Linked DNA regions of Homo sapiens: region 2 is linked to region 1. The links are contacts of gene promoters, found by promoter capture Hi-C in blood cells and fetal thymus (Javierre and others, 2016). All regions are on one chromosome and are shown on one strand. Each heading gives the region's core, a stretch centred on a gene start or on the middle of the fragment in contact. The rest is flanking DNA. Distances are from core to core; before and after follow the strand shown. Region 1 overlaps KRT2 (keratin 2). Region 2 holds the start of KRT78 (keratin 78).

What was found. The method cuts DNA at HindIII sites, captures the fragments that hold promoters and counts their contacts. A CHiCAGO score of 5 or more calls a contact.
Region 2: a contact is called between the fragment with the promoter of KRT78 here and a fragment that was not itself captured in region 1, in 3 of 17 cell types (naive CD4 T cells, total CD4 T cells and naive CD8 T cells). The highest score is 8.4, in naive CD4 T cells.

Annotation. Positions count from the first base shown.
Region 1 is chr12:52,647,291-52,651,967 of GRCh38, forward strand. It overlaps KRT2 (keratin 2), which reads right to left. Exons shown (of 9, transcript NM_000423.3): 1 at 4,268-4,677; 2 at 3,049-3,263; 3 at 2,624-2,684; 4 at 1,717-1,812; 5 at 883-1,047; 6 at 440-565. Among named protein-coding and RNA genes, the nearest start is that of KRT2, 2.6 kb to the right of the region's middle. The HindIII fragment of the contact is 747 bases long and covers 1,305-2,051 here.
Region 2 is chr12:52,845,208-52,850,243 of GRCh38, forward strand. KRT78 (keratin 78) reads right to left here and starts at 3,787. Exons shown (of 9, transcript NM_173352.4): 1 at 3,340-3,787; 2 at 2,700-2,914; 3 at 1,557-1,617; 4 at 990-1,085. The coding sequence starts at 3,723. The HindIII fragment of the contact is 13,226 bases long and covers 1-5,036 here.

The DNA of each region.
Region 1 (4,677 bases), core at 428-2,927:
GCCTCTACCTTTTCTATTCCAAAGCTAACGTCCAGCCCCAGGCCAGCTGCCCTCAATACTCACTGCCCCTCTATGAAACCAGTCGGCTGGTGCTCAGGGCCTGTGCTGAGCACAAACGGGAAGCTCCATCGGCAATCTGCAGCAAATCAATCAAACTAACGTTTGCTCTATTTGTTATGACTCCCTTTTCCTCATATAAACAAGTGAGCACAATTCTTTCCCTTCGATAATCCTTACTTTGGAATGTCTATTAGAGCACTCTAAGAATTGTTATAATAAGCCATAAATTATGTTAAGCTGGGGAATTTGGGATCGATACATGCTAGAGTGCAATATCTCAGTGTCTCTCATCTCTCACATGCACACTCACACACAACCACACTCTCACGCACACCCAGAGACAACCTCCCGCCCCTCGCTGGACAGGGCTGGGCCTCACCTGCTTCTTCACATGTGCGATCTCCCCCTGCAGCCTCTGGATCACGCGGTTCAGCTCGCTGATCTCTATCTTGATCTCTTTCAGGCTGTCTCCATGTCTCCCGACAGTCACCTGGAGCTCCTCATACTGATATGGGGAGAAGAGGACAGTTTGCAAGGAAGTTCCAGCCTGGCTCACATTCCAGACTGACTGGAGTGAAGGAGAGCTGGTTACTGGTCCAGGGAGGGTCAACCCAGCTAAATGTCATGGCTGCATTCATGAGAGGTAGGGACTGTCTCACATGCCCAAAAGGACTTGGTGCCATTCTCAACATCCTTTCTTGGGAATGGTGCCCAACTACCATTAAACAAAAAACCAATAACCTTACTGTACACTTTCCAGCTGGGGGTGCAACCCAGCTCATGGCAGGGAGCTGTGGCTCTTCCTACATTCCCTCTACTTGCCTTGCTGTGGTACAGGGCCTCCGCTTCTTCCTTGCTCCTCTGGGCGATCTCCTCATACTGGGCCTTGACCTCGGCGATGATGCTATCCAAGTCCAGGTTGCGGCTGTTGTCCATGGAGAGGATGACGTTGGTGTCAGTGACACTCTGATGTATCTGGGATATCTCCTACAACACACAGGAAGGTCTGGTCATGACATCCTGCCATAGCTACAGGCAGACAGGAGGCCTCTGTCTCCCAGCATAAGGGAAACGCAGACCCTCAGACTAAGCATACACTAGGTGGGATGAAAATCATGTAACCGTCTACTCCTGGGCCTCTCCCAAGGTTGTCCTGAGAATTGTAGTGAGAGGCACCTGTATTTCTGAGCCTCCTAGTTAACATTCAGCACTTAAGCCAGTTATGGTAAGTGCCCCCAGACAGAAGCTTGTCCATGGCAAATACCTTAAATGGACTTCCTGTTTCAGAAATCATCTGTGCACCCTTGGGTTGGGGAGGGGGATAGGAGACAAATGCATTTTGACCTCTGAAGTACAGTAGGCACAGGAATGGGCACAGGGCTTGTCTCTTCCCCAGGGGAAATGGACATCTGGGGAATGGAGGGAGGGGAAGCTGTCCTGGTGTTTCCTGAACCTTATTCCCATAACATCGGAGGAGAAAATTCCTCACCCACAAGACCTATGCTATGAAAGCCCCCCCAGTGGCCTGGAATGATGGCAGATTGAAGTCAGCTGGTCCATAAACCCCACTTCTGCCACTTTTTCACCAAGCAGAAAGGACTTTCATTTGGTGAGAAGGGTGGGAAGTAAGGGACTGTCCCGGAGCAGCCTCCTTACCGCATCATAGAGAACTTTCAGAAACTCAATTTCCTGGTTCAGCAGGTCCACCTTGGACTGCAACTCCACCTTTATCATGTAGGCATTGTCCACGTCCTGCAAGAAAGGTTGAGGCCTCTGGTGTATGGTTCCCTGTACAGGCCTCTTCCTCTCTCTGCCACTCCCCTCTACTCAGTCCCTGCTGGCTCCTCTCTAAAATCCCAGGCTCCCCAACCTGATCCCTGTCCCCATGGGACTTCTTTTGTCGTGCAGTTTACCATACACCTCTGCCAGGGACTTCATGCCTACGTCCATGGCTCACAGCCCTCAGGACCATCAGAGCCTCGAGATGACCAAGCTTTGCCAACCAGCCCCTCTCTCCTGCTTGAGACACTGTGTGTTTCTACAACAGGATACGATGTTCTTTGTGGGTTTCCACAGTCCTCAGCTCTCTCATCCCGTCTGTCCATCTCACCTCTCCGAAATTTCCCCAGAATATACACCAAAGGCCCTGCAGGACCCAGCAGGAGAACCCTTGCTTTTGGCCTACAACCTCAAACCTTTGTCAGCACAACCAACAGCAACTTTAAGCAGGCATTCTAAGGGAAGTCCCATTCCTTCCTCAGCTCTTTAGAAGGAGAATACAAAGAGATTTTTGTGTTTGCATTTATCATGATTCAGTAGAGGCTTTAAGTGGGTTACTACTGGGAAGCACTCTACCAAAAATGCAGAACAGCTTTGAAAACTGTATCCAGAAGCTTGACCTACAGAGACAATTTTGTTTGCAAGAGAATGTGCCATGGGTCTCACTCCTTTCTCTGGCTGCTGCTTTTGCACTCACAGTTGATTTCCAAACTGGCTGCTTAGACACAATGGGGCTGTGAAGCACTCCTATCCCCACCCCCAGCCAAGACATTCTCTCGCTCACCTTTTTAAGCGTCACAAAATCATTCTCAGCAGCTGTGCGCTTATTGATTTCATCCTCATACCTATTGGGACACAGATGTTACAGCAGTTAGATTAGTTCCCCTTCATTTTTTTTCTTTTCCTTTTATACTGGATTCACCCCAAATGCCCCATTCTCTGGGAATATTACACACTTTTTAAATATCTAAATTGAAACTAAGATTTCCAAACTAAAGATATATTTTTATAAACTAACTCTCAAACATACAAAAGACAAAAATGATCTCTAAAGTCTCACTGTCTTCCTCACAAATAATCAACAAAGATACATATGCCTCTCCCCATTACCACCACAAATGCAACTGGGAGATGAATGGCTTTCCAGGGAGTGATCAAATGGCTCAGTGCAATGTTTATCTCCACTCAGCGTTTCACTCTGCCACCTACTTCTTCTTATAATCCTCCACAAGATCCTGCATGTTATTCAGCTCTGAATTCTGTGATGTTCTTTCTGCAGTGAGCCCATCCAGATATCTCTTGAGGCTGTCGATATACCCCTGGAAGATGGGCTCCAGGTTGATGGGGCGGGTGCCAACATTCATTTGTTGTAGCAGCTCCCATTTGGTCTGTAACACCTGGTTCTGCTGCTCCAAGAACCGCACCTGCCATGACCAGAAGGAGAGCACATGAGTTCTAGATCATCCTTCACACCAAGCAAGCCACGCTGGCCAGGGGCAGCTCAGGTGCTGCTTCAGGACCTCGAGAAGTGTCTGAGGCTGGATGCCGAGTCATGACTGGCAGAGCTTCTGAGCTCCCTGCTTTCGCCCCTGGAAAGTCCCACAGACTCCTAATGCTACATCCGGCTCTCTCCACGCAGAGGAGACTCTTTGCTGCTTCACTGCTCACTGGTTTGTTTGCAGCTGCTCCCAATACTCTAGACCATTTCCCTCCCCGCATCCTGGTTGAATTTCCAGCCAAGATCCCATAAATTCTGGGGAAAACCGAAAGCAGCCATCTGCTGGCACTGCTCGCAAGGGTGCTGAGTATGAGAGTCCCAGAGGGCAGGGCTCCTCAGCCTGATTTTTAAGAGCCTTGTAAATCCCTGCCTATTTCAAGGCAGATAAACCAAGACAGGTTCGTCTGCCTTGAAATAGGAGAAAAGCCAGTAACACTCCGAAGTGACACCAATAAAGACTTTATGGATCACAAAACTGAGAACGCTTCTCTTGAAGGCAGGAATTTCCTGCATTCCCAAGCAGATATTTCAGGTTCAGCTTCCCAGAGTTTAGTAATCACTGCTAAGGAAGGAAACACTATCTCAGAAGACGATGGCTTCCAAAACCTGCTGCTCCAGTGGCCTGTCCCAAGGATCAGTTCAATACTTGCCTATATCCATTTTTTATGGTTTTCAGAATTTTCCATAAATATTATTTATATGGACTGTAACAATAAGGTCAAAGGGACAAATGCTTCCTAAGTGCAGGCTGTTATGGGAAATGTAACCCACAAAGCTGGCGTCTTTTCCATCTGGAAACCGCAAATGACCCAGGCTACTGCGGTACACCACTGGCTCCTAAGAAATACAAATCTGTGCCATTTTCTTTTTGGTTGGCTCTGGAAGTGAAGTGGCCTGAGCATCAGTGGGAGCCGTCTTCTCCAGAGTCACCTTGTCAATGAAGGAGGCAAATTTGTTGTTGAGAGTTTTGATCTGCTCACGCTCTTGGGCCTTCACATTCTGGATCTCTGGGTCAACTTTCACGTTGAGAGGCTGCAGGAGGCTCTGGTTGACAGAGACTTCGTGGATGCCACCAGGGTATCCTCCAGGCCCAAAGCCACCAGGACCCCCTAAACCTCCAACACCACCAGGGCCCCCAAAACCTCCAAAGCGGCCTCCACCAAAGCCGCCTCCACCGAAACCACCACCACTGAAGCCGCTGCCACCTCCAAAGCTGCTGCCGCCTCCAAAACCACCTCCTCTGCCACCAAATCCACCAGCGGCGCCAAAGCCACCACCTCCTCCAGCCACACTAATGGAGATGCTCTTGGTCCCTCCAAGGCCAACAAGACTCCGACTGC
Region 2 (5,036 bases), core at 2,537-5,036, 200 kb after region 1:
TTTCACTAGGCTGGTCTCGAACTCCTGACCTCAGGTGATCCACCTGCCTCAGCCTCCCAAAGTGCTGGGATTATAGGCATGAGCCACCGTGCCCAGCCATCTTCAGACCTCTTATCATACTCCTCTCCCTCTCGCTCCTACTACTCTGGCCACACCGACCTTCCTGCATTTCCTCAGACAGCACACTCCCGCTGTGGGCTGCAGCCACTGCCTGGAATCCCAGAAACCCACCTGCGTGGTGACCTTCCTCACCTCCTCCAAATCTTTGCTCAGATTTTATCTCCTAAATAAGGCCTACCCTGGCCACATGATTTGAAGTTGGCACCTGCTCCATGTTCCCAATCCTCCTTTCTCTGTTCTCATTTTCCTTTTTTCCATTGCGTTTATCACCTTCTTCCATACTATATGATTTCCTTATTTACTAAGTCTGTTGCTTATTGTCTGTCTCCCAATAGAAAGCAAACTTAGTCGGGCGTGGTGGCTCATGCCTGTAATCCCAGCACTTTGGGAGGCCGAGGCGGGTGGATCATGAGGTCAGGAGTTCAAGACCAGCCTAGCTAAGATGGTGAAACCCCATCTCTACTAAAAATACAAAAATTAGCTGACCGCAGTGGCGGGTGCCTGTAATCCCACCTACTTGGGAAGCTGAGGCAGAGAATTGCTTGAAGCCGGGAGGCAGAGGTTGCAGTGAGCTGAGATTGCACCACTGCACTCCAGCCTGGGCAACTGAGCAAGATTCCATCTCAAAAAAAAAAAAAAGCAATTTTTTTATCTGTAGTGATTTTTTTCTGGTTATTCATTGATGTATCCCCAGGACCTAGCAATTCACATAGTAAGTTTTCAGTAATTGGTTGTCAAGTGACTGAATGACCCAGAATCTAAGCCACCCTAACAGACTTCCCCTCTTGGCCATTCTCCTCATGGCCACAGGAAGCCTGCCCACCCAGTCCTCTCTCTTGGCTGCAGCCTGCCCTTTGGTTGAGCCTCACTTCTTCATTCAGATGCTTCAAGAAGTAGAGGTACTCTCTCAGAGCCTCCAGCTTGCCCTCCAACTCCATCTTGCTCAGGAAAACCCCATCCACATCCTGGAGACAAGGGGAGAGAGAACACGTAACCCCCTCTTCCTCTTTGGGGTCCCTACTCTGGCTCAGGAATTCTGTTCATGCACTGCTCAACACCCATCCACCATGCCTCCCAAGACCCCCTCCTTCCTCCTCCAGCCCCACTCTGTCCTGCTCTCTCCTTTGCCCAACATTGACCCAACATCACCTTCAGGAAGTCTTCCCTGATTAATCACAACCAGTTCTGCTTCTTCCTCTCCCTCCCCGCCCTCTCCTGCAGTGACATCAAGAGCTCGTCAAGCAGTCCTTTAGTCAGATCTTGCCTTGGGGCCCCTGTGTCTAGGCAGATGTCCCATTTTCCCAGGGGACCCCTGCAGGTAGAGTGATAGCCTGTCCTAAATCAGGACCTCCCACCTTTTCCCTCCCAGCCTAGGACTAGGCTCCGTGCACAGTGGATGCTCAGAACGTAAGTGGAGCACTGGCCCCCACCCTCACCTTCTTGAGGACCACAAAGTCGTTCTCAAGTGTGGCACGCCTGTGGGCCTCCTCCTCATACCTGCCAAATAAGTAGAGAAGGATGCAGTTTGAGGCTCCACGGTCAGAGCTCATGCCCCCATGTCCGAGCATGACCTCCCTGAAAAGGACTCCTTGCCTTAGAATGCCCCCAAACAAGACAATAACCAGCCCTTCTCTCCTTTCCTGCCACGTCCTAGCTATGTACCTGTGCCACCCTTTCAGCCCATGTCCTTTTGATGACGACAGCCACATTGTTTCAGTTTATAAGGCACATTCGAATACCTTTTCCCACTTGCTACTCACACCCATCACTTGAGGTAGGCAGTTTGGGTTTTATCAGAGAGATTAGATGATTTGACCAAGACCCCACAGATGACTAGGTAGACAAAGCAGAGCCAGCCCAGGTCTTCTGACCCCAATCCAGGGCTCCTTCCAGAACCTTCCTTCCTCCACCTCACATCCCATTATCCCAATAGCCCTGGGAGGCCAGAAGGGCAGGTGACATTTCCCAAGTTTACAGAAGGGAAACCAAGTCCGGGAGAGATGAGATGCCTTGCCCAGGATGCACAGCTACCCCTCACTCACAGTTGCCCCAACCCAAGCCCCCTATTAGTCCAGGGCTCTCTCCACTCCACCAGGTGACCTAGGCGTGGAGCCCAGAACCACAGCCCATCTGTGAATTGTGTCACAGGCCTGGGGACAGCCCCACTAAATTGATTCCCTTCCCTCTTTGGAACCAGAGAACATCTGAATCACTTTAGCCCACAGCCCGCTGAACAGGAATTTCTCAAGAATAAAAAAAGCCACTGGGGCATTGTTTAAATAAGCCCTTCCCAGCCTTGACCGGAAACATGGGCCCTTGTAGCTGGGGCATGTAGGACACCGGTCTCCCTGCCTTTCCTCCAAGGTTCTCCAGATCTGCTTGGGGACTGCGGGACACCTCGTTTACCTGTAGCAGGTGGGCACCTGAGAGCCTGGGGAATGGGGACGCGGAGGGGTAGAGGGGAGGCCAGTCATGTGCCTCTGGGTGCTCAGTATGTGGGACACCTCCTGGCTGACAGACCCAAACTGAGTCATCCCAGACCCCGCCCACATGGCATGGGGAAATTTCAGTGTGCCTACTTGGACTTATACTCCTCCTCCTGGTCCCGGCAGGCCTTCAACTCAGCATCCAGAGCCCCTCGTTCTCCCTGGAGCTGCTCCAGCTGCTTCCTGAGCTGATCCAGGCAGGCCTCAAAGACAGGCTCCAGGCCCTGCTGGCTGCCACTCAACCCCTGTTGCTGCAGCAGATGCCACTTCGTCTCCAGGACCTTGTTCTGCTGCTCCAGGAACCGCACCTGCAGCAAAAGCAGAGGATCCCTGAGGCTCCTGTGGGACTCCCTGTGCACAGCCTCTGGAAAGTAAAGCCTGAGGGACCCTCCCATCAGCCTCACCTTTCCCCTGTCCCCCTGCCCAACCTGGGCAGGGGAAGCCTCATGACCTTCCATGACACTCTGAACACAACAAAATGACTGGACTGACTAATGGGGCAGGGCCTTCCCCCCGCTGGCTGGCAGTTCTCTGTCCCTGAGCCCCAATCATGGAACAACAGGGCCTCAGCATAGCCAGAGAGAGTCCAGTTAGTCCACAGGAGGGACTTCTTTGCTGCAGAAGTTATTAGAAAAGTGGTAGAAGGAGGCCAAACTTCCCATTTCCAAGTCCATCAAGAGCAGCTCCTCCAAGGGAGGCACAGAGACAGGGGCTTGGCTGAGTTGACCCTCACCTTGTCAATGAAGGAAGCAAACTGGTTGTTGAGGGTTCTGATCTCCTGGGTCTCCTGCGTCCGCACCACCTGGAACTGGGGATCGATCTCAATCTTCAGTGGGGTCAGCAGATTCTGGTTGATGGTCACTTCTTGGATGCCCCCCGGAGGGCACAGGGAGAGCCCAGGCCCACCACTCCACTCCCCAAACCGCACCCCCAGCCTACCCCCTGACCCCCAGGTACTCCCACGAGAGCCTTCCAGGCACCCCCCAAAGGAATTAAGGCTCCTGCTGCTGAAGCCGCCCCTGCTGCTGAAGCCTCCCCTGCTGCGGCCCCTTGAGCGAGCAGAACAGGCTGAGCGAGCGCTGAAGCCCCTCTGGGCCCGGCATGGGGAGAGAGACATGGCAGAGACAGACAGTCACGCAGCTGCAGACGGACAGACAGATTGTCAAGGTGTGTGAGTTTCTGCCCTGGGGCCCCAGCACGAGACTTTTATCCACTCCCGTACCTGGGCTGGGCCTTGGAGAGCAAGATACTCTTGACCTGACTGTGTCTGTCACTTGGCTCCAGCTGACTTACTCTGACGTGCCTGGAGAATAAGTGTCCGGCACGTGCAGAGCCAAGGGAGAAGGAAACCCAGACCCTGCCCTCAGAGCTCCCAGGCTGTTGGAGAAATAGGCATGCCCAAAGACAAGGAAGCAGGCAGGAGACTGGGATGTCAGTGCTGAGGGACAGGGAGGGATGGCCGGAGCAAAGTCACTGAGGCCCTCAGGGAAGGCTTCCTGAAGGAGACAGGGAAGCGAGAGGAGGTTGAAGAGGAAAGAACGCTAGAAGGGGTTCAGAGGAAGCATCAGAGTGCCCTGGATTCTCAAGGGAGAATCTGCCTCAAGGAGTTGGAGAAGGAAGGCACTTGCAGCGCCACAAAGAGAGGAGGTTAGTGGAGGTGTTATTGCCATAGTTGGCTAAAAGACACTCCAGGATTTGGAAATGAAACAGAAAAACAGGGTTTCCAAGTCCTTCCTCTTGCCCAACCCAGCAATCATCCATGAGGCACCACCCACTGAAATCAGGCATCTCCATCCAGGATCGCATGGGACAGCACGTTTCTGACCCAGCCTGTGGCTCTGCTCCTTCCACAAGCACTTGGGGCCAGGCCCATCCACCTGCCATCAGGCTCCGCTTCCTGAGGTTACAAATCAGAGCCACCCAGGCTCTGAAATGAAATGTGCATTTAGGGCCGGGCACAGTGGCTCACGCCTGTAATCCCAGCACTTTGGAAGACCGAGGTGGGTGGGTCACTGGAGGTCAGGAGTTTGAGACCAGCCTGACCAACATGGTGAAACCCCATCTCTACTAAAAATACAAAAATTGGCCAGGTGTGATGGTGCACACCTGTAATCCCAGCTACATATGAGGCTGAGGCAGGAGAATTGCTTGAACCCAGGAGGCAGAGGTTGAGCAGTGAGCCAAGATCGTACCACTGCACTCCAGCCTGGGCAACAGAGTGAGACTCCATCTCAAAAAAAAAAGCAAGGTGCATTTAGAAAATACTCCTAAGCTGGGAACGGTGGCTCACGCTTGTAATCCCAGCACTTTGGGAGGCCTAGGCGGGTGGATCACGAAGTCAGGAGATCGAGACCATCCTGGCTAACACGGTAAAACCCCGTCTCTTAAAAATACAAAAAATTAGCCAGGCGTGGTGGCAGGCACCTGTAA